Linked DNA regions of Homo sapiens: region 1 is linked to region 2. The links are contacts of gene promoters, found by promoter capture Hi-C in human tissues and cell types (Jung and others, 2019). All regions are on one chromosome and are shown on one strand. The core of a region is centred on a gene start or on the middle of the fragment in contact, and the rest is flanking DNA. Distances in the headings are between cores, read along the strand shown. Region 1 has its middle 110 kb from the start of LINC02881. Region 2 holds the start of CXCL12 (C-X-C motif chemokine ligand 12).

What was found. Contacts are between HindIII fragments. The study calls those that stand out against the background at their distance.
Region 1: a fragment that was not itself captured here is called in contact with the fragment with the promoter of CXCL12 in region 2 in 1 of the 25 tissues and cell types used here (thymus).

Annotation. Positions count from the first base shown.
Region 1 is chr10:44,179,963-44,186,001 of GRCh38, forward strand. No RefSeq gene overlaps it. Among named protein-coding and RNA genes, the nearest start is that of LINC02881, 110 kb to the right of the region's middle. RefSeq lists an enhancer at 2,424-2,593. The HindIII fragment of the contact is 9,423 bases long and covers 1-6,039 here.
Region 2 is chr10:44,381,589-44,388,056 of GRCh38, forward strand. CXCL12 (C-X-C motif chemokine ligand 12) reads right to left here and starts at 3,509. Exons shown (of 3, transcript NM_199168.4): 1 at 3,357-3,509. The coding sequence starts at 3,417. RefSeq lists enhancers at 1,065-1,758, 1,759-2,452, 2,453-3,144 and a silencer at 5,038-5,247. The HindIII fragment of the contact is 18,967 bases long and covers 1-6,468 here.

The DNA of each region.
Region 1 (6,039 bases), core at 1,680-4,179, 200 kb before region 2:
CCAGTGCCTTGGTCTCAGACTCCCAGCCTCCAGAACTGCAGGAGACATATGTTTTTGTTGTTTAAGCCGCCCAGTCTGGTACTTTGTCATGGCAGCCCCGGCTGAGTGGTGTACCCTATTTTCTCACGGTGTTCTTATGTTCTAGTTGGTGTCCAGTGGTCTTGGCGCTATCTGCATAGCTTCTGGTGGCAGTGCCGATGCTTTATGACCCAGTTTGGTGCACGGATATCCAGCGGCACTGAGCTAGTGAGACCTCACGAATCTCAGTGACCATGGACCAGTTTGCCGTGTCTGATGTAGAACTGCTGTTATAAACCTATTAAATGGTGTAGATGCTATCTGGCTGAGACCACAACAGGGATTCCAATGAGGTGGAAGAATCAGGCTTTTTCTTTCTAAACTCACACCAACATCTGTGCTTCAGAAGTCTCTCTCAGAGCATTCATCCCCGCTGACTCATACGCTGTGGCAGGCATCGGACACCTACAGTGCAGTGGGTTCTTTTCCAAAAGTCCATGTGACTTCGTCACGTGAAACAGTGTCTTGTCAAATGCCAGATGCTGCAACTCCCCTGATCCCATAAAGGGGGTTTTGTTCGCATCTCAAGCAGCCCGGCCCTTCTTGCATTTCTTGAAGAGCTCTGGGACAGTGCACCAGTGGTGCCAGAAGAAAGCACATCACAGGTCTGACTGTGGCACTGAGAACTCCTCCTAAAACGAGAGGCAATATTGTTCTAACAAGGAGCACATGGAGGATGCAGATGCCTTAGCCAAAAATCTGGGAAAGTTGAGAAAGAGGAAAATACCAATATTGCCAAATCCTTCTGAGCTACAAGTTAGAAAACATGTTTTATTCAGCATTGGTCTGCATTTTGGTAATTCGATAATAATAGCATTGCCCCACTGAAGAACTAAGAATTGCATAGAACTAAAACATAAGTGAATTCACAAGAGGATCCCACTCTTGAACACATTCAACAGAAGGAATGCCCTCATTTGCCTGGAGAGCTTAAGTGTCACTCTTACACTGCAGTAATGCAAAACAAACCCAATGACGAATTGCCACATTTTAGCTGGGTAGGAGAAAATGTGCTGTAGCAAGAAGCAGATTGAGAGTGATGTTCTTGTTCATACAGTGTCACATATAATTAGTTCATCATGAGGGCTCTGAGCCATGCACCAAATATACACAATGATGAGTTCTTTCACATCTCTTTTCTTTTTTTTGAGACAGAGTCTGGCTCTGTTGCCCAGGCTGGAATGCAGTGGTGCGATCTTGGCTCACGGCAACCTCTGCCTCCCAGGTTCAAGCGATTCTCCTGCCTCAGCCTCCCAAGTAGCTGGTACTACAGGCATGTGCCACCACACCCAGATAATATTTTTGTATTTTTAGTAGAGACAGGGTTTCACCTTGTTGGCCAGGCTGATCTCGAACACCTGACCTCCCGATCCACCTGCCTTGGCCTCTCAAAGTGCTGGGATTATAGGTATGAGCCACTCCACCAGGCCTCACATCTCTTTTCATTTGATTAGATTTGTATAGCCTCAAATCCTTATGAGTGTCCTTCCCTGTGAAATGTTCTTATGGGAGAAACTATTAGCTGCGTGCCGTTCCTGGAAAAATTCTGATGACGACAACAAGAAACAACAAAAGCTATGCAGCTTCTTTCTCTCCTGTCTTCTCTGTGCAGGAACATGGAGGCAGTCCCTGTAGATCAGAATGGTGAAAAGGAATGCACATAACTTCCTATAGTGCAAAGCCAAATCTTTGGATATTCAGCAATAACAACGGTGTTCACTGAAAGACAGTGGAGGAAGGGGTGTATCAGAGACCTAGGTTTGCATTTTCCAAACTCTACCCAGTATCTGCCTCTCTTTCACTCAATTCCCTGATGCTGAATTCTGAAAATTTCCCCTAGTAGCCATCTAACATTGGCTTAAAATGAATTTAACATATTCTTTAAAAAAAATATTCTTGGCCGGGCACAGTGACTCACGCCTGTAATCCCACCACTTTCTGAGGCCGAGGCGGGCGAATCACGAGGTCAGGAGATCGAGACCATCCTGGGTAATATGGTGAAACCCTGTCTCTATTAAAAATACAAAAAATTAGCCGGGAATGGTGGCGGGCACCTGTAGTCTCAGCTACTCGGGAGGGGAGGCTGAGGCAGGAGAATGGTGTGAACCCGGCAGGTGGAGATTGCAGTGAGCCAGAATTACACCACTGCACTCCAGCCTGGGCGACAGAGCGAGACTCTGTCTCAAAAATAAATAAATAAATAAATAAATAAATAAAAATTAAAAAATCTTTAAACATCTCTGAATATTCCAGATGTTTTTCTTTTTATATTTACTCTTTTTTTTCTATTACAAAAGGAAACCAAGTTCATTTTAAAAATGAGAAAATGCAGGGCACAGTGGCTCACGCCTGTAATCCCAGAACTTTGGGAGGCCAAGGTGAGCAGATCACCTGAGGTTGGGAGTTTGAGACCAGCCTGACCAACAGGGAGAAGCCCCGTCTCTCCTAAAAATACAGAATTAGCTGGGCGTGGTGGCACATGCCTGTAATCCCAGCTACTTGGGAGGCTGAGGCAGGAGAATCACTTGAACCCAGGAAGCAGAGTTGTGGTGAGCCAAGATCGTGCCATTGCACTCCAGCCTGGGCAATGAGAGTAAAACTCCATCTCAAAAAAATAAAATAAAATAAATAAATAAAAATAAAAATGAGAACAATACAGGAAAGCAAAAGAACAACCAAATCTCCCACACTCCCACCCACCTTAGGACAACCCTCAGCCTCACCTTGGAATATTATGTCCTTAGATGCCTTCCTTATACAAATTAAACTATACTATTTGTCTGAGAAATTGTCTCAGAAAATCTACTGATGAGCATTATTTATTCTACCTTTTCACTACTTAAATTTCAACAGAGCAACAGAACAGAATAGCAAGTAAAAATTTAAACACATTTATGACCATTAAAAAAGTTTCTGAGAAACTGGCAAAACTTCTTAGAGGTAGATCAAGGTTTGCAAAACTACTCCCCAGGATGCATCCAAAATGACCTAGTTATTAAATGTTTGGTTTTTGACCTAGACATCGTTTGGCCAAATTGTCTTGTTTTTCAACCTGAATGTAGGCCAGTCTACCTTTGGCCAATGTAATGCTGCCAAAATTGTGTGTGACAAGTCTAAGAGACTTTCTTCATTTTTTATCTCAGTATTCTTTCTCTAGAACTCAATATCCATCCCTGATCTCATATTGTATCTTCTCCCGTGGCCCTGTTTAAACACCCTCTGGTTCTCCATCTGGCTCTCTGCCTAAATTTCTGGCAGTTTCTTCAAAGTTCATCCTCCTGAAAAGTCCAAGATGTACTGGGGAGGAAACTGGATATATGTAAAGTGCATAGTACCTAGTAAATATCTGCCCAACAAAAGTGGTATCTACTCTTATTTTTGCAGCCTTTTATCCAATAACAAGTATAGCATGCATGGTTTAAGTCTCTTTTAGTCTTCATAAAAATTATGCATGAGTTAGTTTCCTTTCCCCCATGTAAGAGTTGAAAGCACCAAGATGCTGAGAATGTATGTGATTTGCATAAATGTGGAGGCAGATTTTAAACAGAGGTCTAACTATTAATTATTTTCTGCACAGAGCTAGATGCAATATGTGGACATGAGAACTGGCTTTGTTTGAAGTTGAAGGAAACTTTAAAACTTAAAAAACTGAGCACAAAACTAAAAACTTGCTGAGTTTTCAAATTCTGTTATGGCAAATTCTTTCACAAACCTTAAATTTGGGAATGTAAATAACATTCTTCCAGGCAATGCAGAGCTATTATTTAAAATTAAAAAAAACAGACTCCTTGAGCAACAGCTTTGTGAACTTGGTTGGCACTACAGCATGCGTTTTGCAGAGTCAACACAAAATTATTTATGGGAGGTCCTGTTGCTTAATGTGACTCATGTGTGTTTGATTGTGTTTCACAGAACATGGAGAAAGCGCTGCCATTAGGATGGGAGGTCAACATGGCTCTGCTGGATGCCAGTGGCTTTGGATCTGATCTGACAGAGCTGTAATCAATACTCAGCATTTCCTCCATGCAGTTACTCCGATCATTTACATATTGCCTTACTCCTCATGGCAAACCTACACATTCTTGTGATTTTACAGATGAAAAGACTGAGGCATGGAAGGGATGAAGAGCCTGTCCAGGACCAGCAGTTAATCACAGGAGAACTGGGAGCTGAGCCCAGGCTGCCTGGCTTGCAGCTGCCCTGGGCCTGCCTCTCTGTGCTGCAGGGCTGTCAGATCCAATGCCCTTGGCATCTGTAGAGAAAAGCAATCCACACAATTCTTATACATAAAATAAAAACCATTTTGGCTACTAAAAAATATACTGTATTCATTCCACGATCACGTGAATTCATTGGTCAGTCCCAACTATCCTCTTCCAATGTCACAGTAGGTGGGCAGGAGGATGGCGCAGTGGTCAGAGCTGTGTCACCTTGCTGGCCTGCACCCCTGTCACTGCACGTTCCCACCATGTACCTTATGTGTCTCCCTCCCCCCACCCAACATGGGAACCCACTCCCACATCCCAGAGCAGAGTCTTCACCATGTTTGAATCTGATCAGACAACACTGGGCAGTGTCCCTGTCGTTCAGGGAAAGAAATGGAAACCTACCCAGGAAGGTGGGAGGAACACATGGAGGAGACAGCAGTCTGGGTCTGGAATGCTGGTGGGATTTCTATGTGATAGGAGTGAGTGAGGAGATATCTATTTTAGGAAAGAGGAAATATCTCATGAGAACAAATGCAGACAGGCCAACCTGGGCACAGACAGGAGTGGTCAAGGGAGCCCAGGAAGGGCAGGGAAGGAGCAGGAGAACAGGGAGGCCTGGGAGTGGTGGTTTGCAGCCTGAGTGTCCTCTGCATCCTGTCTTCTCCAGGCCCATAGCCCACCTTCTATGAGCTTCCTTCCAGGTTCTGTTATGGAGAGACCCTCAACTGCCCAACTCCCTTCTAAAGGGTGATGAGTGGAGAGCACGTACTGGGTTCAACCTGCGGGCTTCAAGACCATGGGATAGTGCATGCGTGAGTGTGTGTACATGCGTGTGTGTGTCTGCATGCGTGTGTGTGTGTGTGTGTGCATGGGTGCGTGTGTGTGCATGCGTGCATGTGTGCATGTGTGTGTGTGTGCATGTTTTGAGTGTGTGCCTGTGTGCATGTGTGTGCATGTGTGGGTGTGGGCATGAGTGTGTGTGCACTCATGTGTGTTGTGTGTGTGTGTGTGTATGTGTCTATAAAGGGCTTTGTGCAGGAGAGTAGCATGGAACAGCTAGGCATTAGGATGGTAGTAAACCTGATGGGGGCCAAATGAATTGAGAAAAGAAGGAAGAAGGAAGGAAAGGAGGAAGGGAGGGAGAGAGGGAGGAAAGAAGAAAATGAAGGAGGGAGAAAGGAAGGAAAAAAGTAGGAATTAAGAAATAAAGAAAAGAAAAAGAAGTGAAAGGAGACAGGTGCACAGTGTCAAGGGACACGCACCTTGGCATGGCAGTGGAGATGGAACGAGAGGGACCAGAGGCTTCCCCGACCCCCCTGAGGGTGACTCGCACAGCAATGCATCAGTCCATCTGTCTCCCACGTTCCTCTCTATGCTTCTCAGGGGAAAGGGGACGTTTCCATTTTATAAAAGAAGAAATGACCTTACAGGACAAAGACAAAAATAAAAGTATTAAGATTGGTGCTGGATGGATAAGTTTGGATACCCAGCAAATAATTTGGAAAAAAATGAGTAAGATTTTTTTAGCTTATAGGCTATCATGAATGCAGTGAATTCAACTCACCTGAGATTATTCACTGTGTTTTTTTTTTGTCTCAAAATATAAAACAGTAAAAAAACCAGCTAATGTATTTGACCTGTGCTCAGCCTCAGCTGTGTGCCAGGCGCTGTGCTGGGCATGACAGGAAATGCAAGGATGCATAAGACACTCTCCTTGACTCCTGTGGAAGTGAGGGAAGAGCATTGCGTGGCA
Region 2 (6,468 bases), core at 2,259-4,758:
GAATTGTATTAAGATCTTTGCAAAATCACCAATTTACAAAATGCCATAATTGACACTCATTAGTGTAAATTAGCAAGGGGCTCCTGCAGAACCCACTGCTCACCCTTTAAATATAGGATTGCAAGCCCTGGAGGGCTGGGATTTGTGTGTGCTTTTTGTTTTTCTTTTTTCCTTGAAGATTTTATCCAAGCCCCACTTAATACCCCAAATTATTTGAACTTGTGGATCCTTTCATCAGAGATTAAATATATGTCTAAGAATATTTGGTCCAGAGATTTTTTTTCTTTTTTCTTTTTTTTTAAGTTTGCCTGTTTACAAAGTTCTGAGAGACCTCTGTGGTTCTGAAATTCTGCACCTTTGGGAAAGAATGCTGGGGAAGTAGGAGGAAATCTTGAGTAAGGGGCTCATTTTATTTTATTTTTTCTACAGACTGCAATCAATTGAGGGATGATGTGGACTAGGAATTGCATTGTGTATTCAGCCACCAAGTTGCAGGAAAAGTGGACCACTTGTCCCCCCACTTCCTTGTCCCCAGGACCAAATGCAACTCCCTGAAAACCAGGAAAAAGCCAAGCATCAGGGTGCTGGTGACTCATGGCACTGGAGAGACCTAAGGCAGCCTTCACAGTTACACCTGATCTAACTCCAGAAAGGCACCTCTGGGGCCAGCTTCCAGCAGCTGCACTGGGACCCTGCAGGGGAAGTCAGCACTGCACTGTAACCAGATCACCTGGGAAAGCCACCCCCAGGGCCGGGGCCTGCAGCCTGGGTAACTGAGGAGCTAAACGCTCCTGAGTGTTGTGCCTCCAGGTTTCCCTGGATTTCTTTTGGGCCCTTCCAAGCTGAGGCAGGGGGTGGGTTGGGGGTGGAGCAGGAGAATAGGAGGCCGGTAGTGAGGCACAAGCCCCCTCCCGGCAACAGTGAGCTTGAAGATATGCAGCCAAGGGCAAGTGCTGCAGCCGCCCCCGCTGGGATGGGTGGGGCTGTGACTCTCCAGCGCCCAGAGGAGAGAAGCTCCTCTGGCCCCCCAACCAAGCAGTGGTGATGAGGCCAGAAATCAGAGCCTATTCAGAGCTCAACACACAGGCTCTCTCTCCTCTCCCCCTCCACCCCCTGGGATTATCCATTTCCTTCAAAAGCAATTCTTGCTTCTACTCCCAGGACCTAAGGCCCGCCTGTCAAGCAGCGAATTTCAACAGGTCTTTTTAAAGTGACAGAGCCCCCAGGTGTGCTTACCAAAAGAACATGGTCTCGTGTGTACCTCATGTGCTCCTTCCTCCAGCTTTTTGTCAGTAAGACTAACTTTCCCAACCGTTCTGGATGTAAATCCGTGTACCGGCAAGAGTCCTGACTGGCTCTGATGGTACCCCGGATTTGGGACCGGGTGAGCTTGGCTCCAGGAGTTTTCAGAAAGCCCTCCAGTCTAATGCAGAGACAGGAGCCCAGCTGGCCCCTCCAAGCAGGCTTGGGAAGGGGGCCCACCCTGAGTTTAAGCCCGGGAAACCCAAGGGCCCAGCTGCCTGACGGAAGTCAGCCAATGGGGGAGGGGCAGGACCCCTGGCCAAGCTCTCTCTGTAGTGCAGCTTGAGGACTAAGTGTGGGGATAGGGGGCACATAGGCACTGTGAGGTGAGGGGAAAACAAAACAAAACAAAACATTCTGGCGATGTGTGTAAGGAGCAGATCTGCCTGGAGCCCAGGCTCCTGCCCTGGTTACTTGGCTGCCAATGGGGCAACTCTGAGGGCCATGTCACCCTTCCCAGGCCAGGAGGAGTCTGGGATGAACCCCACGTCTCTGTGCTTCCCCCAGGTCAGTTGCACCCATAACTCAAAGACCGAGGTTCCTCATTCCAATCCTCTCTCCAGCCCTCCGGGGAGGGGGCAGCACCATTTCCCAGAGCGGCGCACTGTGACACCTCCGCGCTCATCCCACCAATCAGTCAATAACTGCCCAAACCAGAGACCTTACAGGAACAGAAGAATATCCAGCAATAAAAACTAGAAACATGCCCCATGACTTGCGGGGGGGGGGGGGGGTCAGTGTGCAGACACAGCCTCAGGGACTTTTCATCAACGACGAACATTCCCAATTGCCTTCAGTCTGTGTCCTTAACACTTAGGCAGTCCGCCACGACCCCAGGCTGCCCAGCTTCTCCAGCCCGACTCAGCTGCGCTGGTCCTGCTCACACCAGCGCACAGTCCAAGCCAGCTAGGACGCCGGGGCCACGTCTGCACCAACCCAGCCAAGGGCTCGAGGCGCGCTGGGCCTGCACAGCCCGCGGCTGCAAGAGCACTCAGAGTGTCCTTCAACTCTTTGCAGGAAACTTCACAGCCAAGGAAGCTCAGCGGCCTGAGCCACAGGGTTTTGTTTTGTGTGTTCAGAGGCAACAGTTTATTTTGGTTTGCATCGGTGTCCTGTGACAGCGCAGCGAGTTTCTCTTCAGCGAAAGAAAAGAAAAAAGCCCTCTCCCAGTGAAACGGGACACCACGGTTCCCAGTGGCCCAGGGCCTTGGAGATTGAACTTTGCTGCAGCTCTCATTCTGGGGCAAAGCGCTTGGCCAGCTGGTGACAAAAGAGCCTGTCTGCAGGTGTGTTTGGGGAGCTGGGGAGGGGGCGTGTGAGGCTCGGAGGGTCCCTGGGCCTCTCTCAGGTGAACCCGAGAAGAGACAGGAAGACAGCGGCTGGACGCGCGCCCAGGTCCGCGTCGCTGCGGACCGCGGAGCTGTGCAGAAGCGCGGCCTGGCGGGTGGCACAAGCCCGACAGCTGCGCCGCGCAGCCCGCCCGCGCCTGGCCAAGAGCCCCGCGAGGGTGTGGGGAGAGGATCGGCTTCGCAGGGAGCGGAGGCTGCGCGGCTGCATCGGACCTCACAGCCTCAAGTCGCGGCATGAGGCGAACTTTGCAAAGCGCGCTCTCGCCATGCACCGCCCGACCTCCAGCACTGTGCGCAGCAGGACCTCGGAGCCCATTCGCCTGTGGAAACCGAGCCCGCAGCGGGAAGGCAGTGGGTGGAGGGTGGGCAGGCAGGGGTCTGGGGTCCGCGGCTCCCCACCCTCGCGCCTTCCCGCGCCAGTCCCGAACGCTCTCTTGGGGCGTTCCTGCCCAGTTGTCCCGGCTGACCTCGCTCTGCAGCCAGCTTGAGGTCAGGCGGTCGCTCTCTGCAGGTCACAAACCCTCGGCGCAAAAGTAGGGCTTTGAACGCGACACCGCACCAGAGCGCCCAGCTAAGCGAGCTGCCTCCACCCCCACTGTGTCGGGCGGCGCAAACTGCGGGCGCAGGCAGAGGAGCCGCGGCTCTGCGCCGGGCGGGAGCCGAAGCCCAGAGCCTCGCCAGGGCCTCCCCGCCGAGCGCACTTACCGTCGCTGAGGCAGAGCGCGGTCAGCACGAGGACCAGCACGACCACGACCTTGGCGTTCATGGCGCGGGCGGGCGGGCGGGCGGGCGGACGAGCGCGGGTCGGGGGCCGGACGCCGAGCGGGCAATGCGGCTGACGGAGAGTGAAAGTGCGGCGGTGGGAGGCGCGCGCCGGGCGCTTTAGAGGGGAGAGCCAGGCGGGGCGGGGCGGGGCGCGCGGTGAGGGGCGGGCCCGGAGCCGAGTGCTGGCCGTGGCCGGGGTCTCTGACGCGCGACTCCCTCGGCGGCACCCCCCACCCATCCCCTTCGCCCCTCCTCCGCTCCCTCTGTGCTCCCGAGGCGCAGTGCGCTCCGGCCTTTGACCTTCTCAGGCTCCGCTGGGCCCCGCACCGCTGGCCCGGTCTGCAGTGAGGTCCGCAGCCTGAGCGACGCCGGCTGGAGGGCCGCTTATTGTCCCTGTGACAGGGCCCCACTGGAGAGACTGAGGACCTTAGGCGTAAAGTGGGGCGCGCGTGGAAAGCTGCGGGACGGGGCCTTTCGATGGCGGGAACTGAATGAGAACCAATGAAAAGCAAACAAGTTAGTCCCGGGCGGAGGGCCTGCTGGCGGTGGCGGCCCAAGGCAGCCGAGGGGGTCCTGCTTTCTGTGCGTGGGGGCTCAAGCTCGCCACCTGCCCGGCTTGCGGCGCAGCCGCCGGCAGAGCTCGATCTGCGGGAATGAGACCCGTCTTTGCAGTCAGCGTGGCTCGGACTCCAAGCCCACGGCGCCACCAGCCGAGCCTCAGTTTCCTCGCCTGTACAAACAAAGCAGAAGGCGCCGGCGGCTCTCAGTAAAAGCGAATGTAGCCTTTGTACTTCCGACCTCTCAATGGTGAAATGAGCTAATCACAGGCCCACCCCGCGGAGTGGGACGGGAGATTCAATGAGACCCGCCCCACGCCGCGAAATTCTCTGCATCGTGTCTGACAAGCAGACAGTACTCAATAAATGGTAGCTGTAAGTAAGTCCTTTAAACCTAAGTACTTACTGCCTTACCCAAGAAAAGCTCCGTGCGACCCAAAGAGCTGAGAACTCCCCCACCCCGACCTCCGACTCCTAGGACAGTACTACTGGCGTCTGCCTTCTGGGTCCAGAAAACTCTTCCCACGGAGCCGTCCCTCGGCGGTGCTTAGCCCTCCGGATACCCCCGAGACATCCCAGATGGCCCCAGTCCGGTGGCGAAGGGAGGGTGCAGGTCGGCACCCAGGAGACGTGGGGGTGAGGAGAGCGCCCCTTTGGGCCTCGCTTTGTGACCGCAGGCTGCCCCAGCCACCTCTCTGTGTCCTTCCCAGCACAGCGTCCAGCGAAGTGGGGTCAGTCGCCGCGTCCATCCAGGGGCCTGCCCTGGGGACACGTCCCTGTCCCTGGGGAGTCCTGGCCGTCGGGGAGTGGGCGGTCAGCGGCTGCATTAGGCGGGAGCGGTCAACAGGAGGCTGCGAGGGCTCCGGAACTCCGCTGGTGGGAGTAGGTGTCTTCTGTGCATTTTTTTTCCAAAACCACTTTGGCCGTTAGATGGCTGTGGGCCGGCACTCCATCCATCCATCCATCCATCCATCCACCCACCCACCCACCCACCCACCCACCCTGGGCACTGGGCTTGGAGCCGGGAACCCCACTGACTTGGCCCTGCTCTTAAAGAACTGAAGGCAGTGAGGTCCAGTGAAGAAGGCAGCCGTCGGGCGTCCCCAGGCCTTTGCTGGGCTGGGCCGGGGAGCCTGGCCGCTCACCGGCCGCAGCGCTGGGGCTCCGGCGCCCTCTGGTGGCGGCGCCTCCCTCCCCGCTCCCAGAGCTCTGGCCAGCTCCATTCCTGCGCAGCTGATGAAACCCGGGAGGGCGAAGGGGTCCGCGGGAAATCTACACCCGGGTGGAGGGGCGCCCTGGAGCTCGGAGATCCGACCCTGCGGGAGCCGCGCGCAGCCTCGCTTGCCCTTAAATCTGGCCAAAGCAAACGCCATCGCCTCTCGCTTCTTCTTCTTCTTTTTTTCTTTGCCACAAAATCAGGTGGGCAGCTGGACCTAGGATCTGTCCCAGAAGCCTGAAAGGCCCGCGTGGGCTGAGTCGAGGGCGAACCAGGGATTCAGGCCTGGCCGCTGCCCCTCCCGCAGGCGCCCTGAGGCCCCAGAACAGAAGCTACTGTGGCACCCATGGGGCCATCCCTTCCGCTAGTCGTTCGTTAAATACTTACTGAGCACCCACTATGTGCTAGACCTGGGCTACATGTTTGAAGTAGTTTAGAAAAGGCACTAAACGTTTAGAAGCACATGGCGCTAAGCATAAGTAATTACGCATAAAATACTTAGAAGGCCATTAAATGCTAGGGGAAGATGGAGCAGAGGAAAGTGGGGTGGGAGTTAGGATTTTAAATAGGGTGGCCAAGGATCCATATTTTAGGTACAAGCCTCACAATTTTACAATTGGCGATTGAAATTTAAAACCCTGGCCGGGCACGGTGGCTCATGCCTGTAATCCCAGCACTTTGGAAGGCCGAGGCGGGCGGATCACGAGGTCAGGAGTTCGAGACCATCCTGGCTAACACGGTGAAACCCCGTCTCTACTAAAAATACAAAAAAATTAGCCGGCCGTGGTGGCGGGCGCCTGTAGTCCCAGCTACTCGGGAGGCTGAGGCAGGAAAATGGCGTGAACCCGGGAGGCGGAGCTTGCAGTGAGCCGAGATGGCGCCACTGCACTCCAGCCTGGGTGACAAAGCGAGACTCCGTCTCAAAAATAAATAAATAAACAAATATGTAAATAAATAAATAAATATGTAAATATGTAAATAAAATAAAATAAAACCCTGTACACTCTGGGGGCCTCCGCACCGCCTGCACAGGCAGGCGGCCATCAGACCAGGCCATTTTGACATGTCTCCAGCTCACTCGGCCACAGGGGTACCTCTCAAATTCGGGTCAGCGAAGTTCCCCACCCCTTTCCCTGTGTCCTTTGCTTATGCTTATGCTCAAAAGGCTCCACCTTTCTTTCTCTGCCTGGGGACTCTTACTCCCCATAGAGCCCCACCTTCTCCTGAAGTCTTCAGACTCTGTGCCGCTCTACCAGGTAATGCAGGGCACAGCGGCTCC